2 separate regions of the Homo sapiens genome follow, and region 1 is linked to region 2. The links are contacts of gene promoters, found by promoter capture Hi-C in blood cells and fetal thymus (Javierre and others, 2016). All regions are on one chromosome and are shown on one strand. Each heading gives the region's core, a stretch centred on a gene start or on the middle of the fragment in contact. The rest is flanking DNA. Distances are from core to core; before and after follow the strand shown.

The links. Contacts are between HindIII fragments. The CHiCAGO score rates a contact against its expected background, and 5 or more counts as called.
Region 1: a contact is called between a fragment that was not itself captured here and the fragment with the promoter of KLHL31 in region 2, in 1 of 17 cell types (activated CD4 T cells). The highest score is 5.2, in activated CD4 T cells.

Annotation. Positions count from the first base shown.
Region 1 is chr6:53,188,260-53,192,038 of GRCh38, forward strand. No RefSeq gene overlaps it. Among named protein-coding and RNA genes, the nearest start is that of GCM1, 41 kb to the left of the region's middle. The HindIII fragment of the contact is 1,652 bases long and covers 1,391-3,042 here.
Region 2 is chr6:53,664,428-53,668,307 of GRCh38, forward strand. It overlaps KLHL31 (kelch like family member 31), which reads right to left and starts at 1,329. Exons shown (of 3, transcript NM_001003760.5): 1 at 1,174-1,329. The HindIII fragment of the contact is 2,006 bases long and covers 869-2,874 here.

The sequences.
Region 1 (3,779 bases), core at 967-3,466, 480 kb before region 2:
TCTCAAAAAAAAAAAAAAAAAAAAAAAAAAAGCTAAAGAGAAGCCGGAAGTGCTTCCTCTGAATGAAAAGGTGAAAGTTCTCAGCTTAAAAGAAGAGGAAACCATCGTATTTTGAGGTTGCTAAGATCTGCAGTAAGAAGGAATCTTGTATCCCTGAGATCGTGAAGAAAGAAAAAGAAATTCATGCTAGTTTCGTTGTTGCATCTCAAACTGCAAAGCTCACAACAGTGTGTGATAAGTGCTTAGTTAAGGAAAAAAAAAACATTGAAATGTGTGGGTGGAGGTCATAAACAGAACTGTGTTCCGCTTGATGGCGATCAGGTTCAGTGCTATGGGCAGTTTCAGGCTCTGAACTTATCCCCTGTGGATAAGGGAGCGGGAGGGCTACTGTCATCCCTTTTCAGGAATCAGTTGCAGAAGAGATGTCTCTAGAACTCCTCCCACCAAGGTGAAGCTCCACCAAAAGCACCAAGAACCATAATACTGGTATGTCTGATCTGGTTTTGTTTTTGTTTTTGTTTTAGAGACAGAATCTCACCTGTGACCCAGGCTGGAGTGCAGTAGCTCACTGCAGCCTAAAACTCCTGGGCTCAAGAGACCCTTCCAGATCTCTTGGGACCGTAGGGTCCCAAGTAGGACCACAGGCATGCACCACCACACCCGGCTAATTTTTTATATTTTTTGTAGAGACAGGGTCTTGCTTTTGTTACCCAGGCTGTGATCTGTTTATTAAAATATGTCACTAGAGGTTAGAGCTACATCTCCTACTATTCTGCCTAGTAAGCATAATTAAGTAAAATATTCACTAAGTATAATTAAGTAAGTATTCATTTAGTGAAATAACTGAGTAGGAATCTAAGAACTAGGTTCCAGCCTAATCTATACCCAATGTGTAAGATATTACATGGGATCTGATCCTTAGCAAATGTCTTTATATTGATCCACAGTAGATCAACAGAATATATTTTTTAAAGACCTGTTCAAAGTTTTAGACAACTAGGGCCAGGCGTGGTGGCTCATGCCTGTAATCCCAGCACTTTGGGGGGCCGAGTTGGGTGGATCACAAGGTCAGGAGTTTGAGACCAGCCTGACCAATATGGTGAAACCTCGTCTCTACTAAAAATACAAAAAAAATTAGCCGGGCGTGGTGGCACATGCCGGTAATCCCAGCTACTCAAGAGGCTGAGGCAGGAGAATTGCTTGAACCCAGGAGGCGGAAGTTGCGGTGAGCCGAGATCATGCCACTGCACTCCAGCCTGGGCGACAGAGGGAGACTCCGTCTCAAAAAAAAAAACAACAAAAAAACACAAAACTAGATCATACAAAGTTAAAATATAACTTTCTTGAGAGTCATGATTATATTTAGCAACTTAAATCATTGCCACTGAAAAGCTTGGCTTCAGTTTTAAGCAACTAATCTAAAAGCTATGGCACAGAGCTTGCAAGGTGTGGGCTCTAAAGGGTTACATTACATAGCTAAATCATATAGTTGCTTGGCTGCCTTTATGCTAGACATCAAGTCAGGCAACTGGAATTCAACTCCTGGCAACCCCATTTACTACTTAGCTCTTGGACAAGTCACTTAATCTCCTTGCATTTCATCTGTAAAATAAAAATGATAATACATTCCTGCCTCATTCCACCACTAATGTAGGTGGAATAACATAAGTATGCAATAACTCTAAGACTCTAAGGCTCTGTGAAAATGTTAGTTATTTTTAACGTAAACTACAATAATGGTCAAAATGGCCAATATTGGCCAAAGCCACACAGGATCCTTCCCAATCCCTTGAAATCACCTTCTGATAACATTGTATATTATTATATTTTATATATTTCTAGTAGATGGACACCCACCTTCCACCCTCAAGTACACCCCAGCGCCTGTTGTTCACCACCTAGTGTCCATGTGTTCTTGATGTGTAGCTCTGACTTATAACTGAGAACATGCAGTATTTAATTTTCTGTTCCTGTATTAGTTTGCTTAAAATAACGATCTTGTTCTTTTTTTTTTTTTGAGATGGAGTCTGGCTCCATTGCCCAGGCTGGAGTGCAGTGGCACGATCTCGGCTCACTGCAAGCTCTGCCTCCCAGGTTCACGCCATTCTCCTGCCTTAGCCTCCAGAGTAGCTGGGACTGCAGGCGCCCATCACCACGCCCGGCTAATTTTTTTTTTTGTATTTTTAGTAGAGACGGGGTTTCACTGTGTTAGCCAGGATGGTCTCTATCTCCTGACCTCGTGATCCACCTGCCTCAGCCTCCCAAAGTGCTGGGATTACAGGCGTGAGTCACCGTGCCCAGCCAATCTTGTTCTTTTTTATTGGCTGCATAGTATTCCATGGTATATATGTAACCACATTTTCTATCTTTTTTTTTTTTTTTTGGAGACAGAGTCTCGCTCTGTTGCCCAGGCCTGGGCGACAAGAGTGAAATATGTCTCAAAAAAAAAAAATTAGCCAGGCATGGTGGAACATGCCTGTAGTTGCAGCTACTAGGGAGGCTGAGGCACAAGAATCATCTGAACCCAGAAGGCAGAAGTTGCAGTGAGCCGAGATGGTGCCACTATACTCCAGCCTGGGCAATAGAGCGAGACTCTGTCTCAAAAAAAAAAAAAAAAAAAATAGAAAATGTGATTACATATATACCATGGAATACTATGCAGCCATAAAAAAGAACAAGATCATGTCTTTCACAGCAACATGGATAGAGCCAGGGCCATTATCCTAAGCAAACTAATGCAGGAACAGAATATTAAATACTGCATGTTCTCAGTTATAAGTGGGAGCTACGCACAAGAATACATGGACACTGGGAGGTGAACAACAGGTGCGCTAGGGCATACTTGAGGGTGGAAGGTGGGAGCAGAGAGGGGATCAGAAAAAATACCTATTGGGTACTATGTTCATTGCCTGGGGACAAAATTTTCTGTACACCAAACCCCTGTGACACACAATTTACCTATTTAACAAACCTGCACATGTACCATAAACCTAAAATAAAAGTTAAAAAAATGGGAGAAAGAGAGAGAAAAGAATCTGGTAAAGCTTTCTTTTTCTTTTTTTTTTTTGAGAAGGAGTTTCGCTCGTCGGCCAGGCTGGAGTGCAATGGCACCATCTCAGCTCACTGCAACCTCTGCCTCCTGGGTTCAAGCAATTCTCCCACCTCAGCCTCCTGAGTAGCTGGGATTACAGGCGCCTGCCACCACCATGCCCAGCTAATTTTTTTTTGTATTTTTAGTAGAGACGGGGTTTTGCCATGTTGGCCAGGCTGGTCTCAAACTCCTGCCCTCAGCCTCCCAAAGTGCTGGGATTACAGGCGTGAGCCACTGCACCTGGCCTCTAGGTGTATATACTTCGGTAAATAAATATTGATATTCATATGCATTAAAATCCTTGGAAGAATAAAAAAGAAACTTGTTTTAGGAAGGGAATGCTGGGTAGATGGGGGACAAGTGTAGAAAGAAACTTCACTCTGTAATTTTCTCTTAGTTTTTTTAGACATAGGAATGAATTACACATTCAAACATTTTTAAAAATAAACAATTTGGCTGGGCGCGGTGGCTCACGCCTGTAATCCCAGGATTCTGGGAGGTCGAGGTGGGTGGATCACCTGATGTTAGGAGTTTGAGACCAGCCTGACTAACATGGTGAAACCCTGTCTCTACTAAAAATACAAAAAAAATTAGCCAGGCATGGTGGCGCATGCCTATAACCCCTGCTACTTGGGAGGCTGAGGTAGGAGAATCAGTTGAACCTGGGAGGTGGAGGTTGCAATGAGCC
Region 2 (3,880 bases), core at 79-2,578:
TCAGCGTTTTCATGAGATCCATAACCCGAAATAGATCCAAAATGACTGGACTGAGAATAATGCTGCCAAGCAATGGTACATAATTGGACCCTTGTCTGTAAGTGGGCAAGTCCATGTGAAAGTATTGCACTTAAATTCTTCCTGGCCCCAGCTGATCCCAGATGAAGACCCCCAGAACTGGTTATAGAAAAGAGTTGTTACTTCATATTTGAGAACATTTTCCTTCCCACTGCCCTGCACCCATGCTTCCTGGGAGTCCACAACAGGGTAAACTGGAAAGCCATGTGTGCTAAAGTGTCACTGTCACTCTCATGCCAGTATGAACTGGGATCCCAGAATGTCTTTTTGCCAAAGGGGCGAATCAGCTGCGCCTGCTCCCTGTCCTGGCCACATTCCTATCGCTGCATCTGTCGGGGCTCATCAGCCCTACCTCCAGGAATAGAAACCCTCCTGGCTTCTGTGGCTTGCCATTTTAAGTCCAACCTCGGGGTGGGGTGTAGGGGGGTGGTTTCCACTTCACCATTACACTTCCAACATGATTTTTAATATAAAATATATGTCAGCATAATGATATGTGCACATTTAAGACAAAAACCTATTTTTTAGCCAAATAACAAATTTTTTTTTTTTTTTAGGAAGGATATTTCCATTTCATCAATAGGTTATATTTCTGGGAATTCAGAGTTGTCTGAGTTTTGTGCTACAGATTTAGTTAAAACTGGTAACATTTCATCCAAACTGATCAGTAACAAATGTTAAAATGATTCTTGATAAAAATAAAGGTAGAATTCTAAACTTTGTGAACAAAGCCTAAGAATTTTCTCTCCTTCTCCTTCTCTATAAAGTAGTGAAAGAAAAATATATCTTAAGCTTTAGAGATTTAGAATTTTTGTTAGAAATTACAGGTGGTTTTACATTTGTAGGGCATCATTGTCATGCATTTTGTTACCGTGAAGTTCTCCTAACACGTTACATTTCTCAGATTTCAAAAAAATGTTTTCTGTCTCCCAACTTCAGATTAGGGACATGAACCACCTGACCCAGCTGTAGACTCCCTTCAGTAAAATAGCTCTACAACCACAAACACTCAGCCCACCCTCTCCCACCCACACATCCACACACACCCCAGGATCTAGAAGGCAGGAATTGGCGACTCTGGTCCCAGCTCCTTACCCTCCTTGGGTGAAGTGGCAGGTCAACTTGAGATGATGAAGTTTTAGCAGGAGACTCCTCTTGGGAAGGGATCTGTGGAGATAGAGAGAGGGAGAAGGAAAATCCGGTGGGGAGCCACCAGCAGCCACCTGACAAGACCCGGCTGCAGCAATTTTTAGAGTGACCCTTTGCCGTCCCACTGGATAAGGCAGGCCGAGCCTGCGCTTTGGCCCGGGAGCAGAGCAGCGAGCGCCCTCCTCTCCGTCTTTGGCCTTCAACTCTCCAGCCAGCCGGGGGCAGGGGGCGGGGCTCCGGTTGGTGGAGAGGGGTTGGGTTTCTTGAACTGACCAGCTGCTCAAAATGAAAAAGAAAAGAAAAGAAAAGAAAAGAAAGAAAGAAGGAAAGAAAGAAAGAAAGAAAGAAAGAAAGAAAGAAAGAAAGAAGGAAGGAAGGAAGGAAGGAAGGAAGGAAGGAAGGAAGGAAGGAAAGAAAGAAAGAGAAAGAAAGAAAGAAAGAAAGAAAGTCAAGAGCTCAATCAACCTGTGTGAGAGGAAAGAAAATTAATTCGATGGATGTTTAATTGTTGGAAGCAGGGATTCTAGTAGAGTAAGGAGAAGGGAAGGCTGTGGATTAAAAATTAGTTTTTGGAAAGGTAATTAGCCTGGTCACCTACGGTCTTTTGAGAAGATAGTGGTTATAAATAGCCTATTCTTTATAAGAGGAGCACGTATCTACCAGATATGGTACTTTCTACAGCACCTCACATGTGGTTCTAACATTATTAGGCTCATTTTAGAGTTTAATAAAGTGAGGTTTATGGCCAGCGATTTTCCAGTGATCACAGAGAGGTCTGAGATTAACACACACTCTAGCACACATGCAGGTTGGGAAATATCTACTTTGGCAACACTTCATGAGAAAAAAAATTCAATGATTATAATTGACTACAAATTTTAATGGGCACCAAGAGTGTGAAATGGTTGCTTAAAAAGTTAACATGATATTAAGCTACAATAATAGAAAAATAGATCATGGAAAATAAATGTTCTAATTATTCTTCATTAGTCAGATGATGTGTTAAGCATCACTTTGCTATCTTGGCACTCTGAGAACTTACTCTTCATCCTACAGAGATGGCTGGAACAAAAAAACTTCAGAGGCGGTGCATGTTGGAAACATCTGAAGAGAAGTATGACAAAGAGAGGACTTTTAAGATAAGTGAGACACCTGAGAGCAAGTGTTGTGGGGGCTGTTGTACAGCAAGAGGATTCAGTCAAAATTTCTGTAGCCTAAAATGTCAAAAATTTTAATGTGCAGTAATTCCGGGGAAATACCTTAAAATAAAGAAGAAGAGTGCAGATAACAGCTGGGCTCTAATGATGAAAATGGCAGCCTTGTAAAAGAGCCAGTTCTCTATAATTAGAAGGGTGGAAGTAAAAGAAGTTGCAGGACTGGTGTGACATTGAAGGGACTCTGTCTATGGCTGGGGGCTTGCACTGCATCATCTCTGAAATCTTTCCAACTCTAAGGCTCTGATTCTATATGTGCCAGTCTCCAGTTCACCTGAGACTCTCAATTCACTGGATAGCATCTGTCTATTGACTACTTCTGCTGGAATTCCCACCAATTTTTTAGTAGGAAAAACTATTTGGATTTTTTTTTTAATTCTTTGCTTCTACCCATAGATCTCCAGCACAGAAAGCGCCAGGAGCAAATCAAAGAAGCTTCTATTATGGTTTGCTTCTAAGAAATTCTACTTGGTCCCACCTCCTTGACTCAGGTAAAGGGTCAGAACCTTCCATCTTTGTTTGTTTGTTTGTTTGTTTTTTGTAGAGACAGGATCTCAGTATGTTGTCCAAGCTGGTCTCAAATTCCTGGTCTCAAGTGATCTTTCTGCCTTGGCCTTCAATCCCGTTTTAATTGTAATAAAAGTCAGCCTTATATCAGTATTTATGATAATGATGATATAATGATGGAAAGGGCCTTCAAGAAGATGTTGGTACCAATATTATCTTCTTCAAGGGTTCAAGACTATTAATTCCAGTTTTACTGGAACATCACTGAGATGCTCCTTTCAATATAATATAATGTTAAGATATGAACACAAGTGGAAGAATAAAAGGCAAAAAATGGAAAATCTAAGACACTTTAAAAATCATTTTCAGAGTAGCTAGTCTGTGTAACCATTCGACTACTGCTATGGTAGATACACTGGAAACACAGCATGGGACAGTAGGTTGTAGTGAATATTAAGAAATTTTGTCTTTGTCTTTAAAGCAATGAGTCTACCAATTGGAGCATATTTAATAAAAAAGAGGGTCATGATGAGATTGGCATTTTAGAATGAACATTCCGTAATTTGGGGATGTAACCTTAATGGAATTTAGATTTGTTTCTATTGCTAGTGCCTGTCTCTCTTCCACCAACCTCCTGATACTCTCTGCCATACAGCCAGTTCAAATGTAAGCTCCATGAAGGCAGGGATTTTTATCTGTCCTAACAGCAGACTTTCTCTCTTGGCTTTGATGAAGCCTAGTGCCAGGTTGGAGATGCCCAAGCAAGGAACATCCAGTTAGAAACTAAAGCCTTCAGTTCAATATCCCAAAAGACAGGAATCCTGACAATCATCATTTAGTGAACCTGGAAGTCAATCCTTCCCCAGTTAAGCCTTCAGATGAGGCCCCAGCCCTGTCTAACATCTTGATTGAAGCCTTGTGAGAGAGCCTAA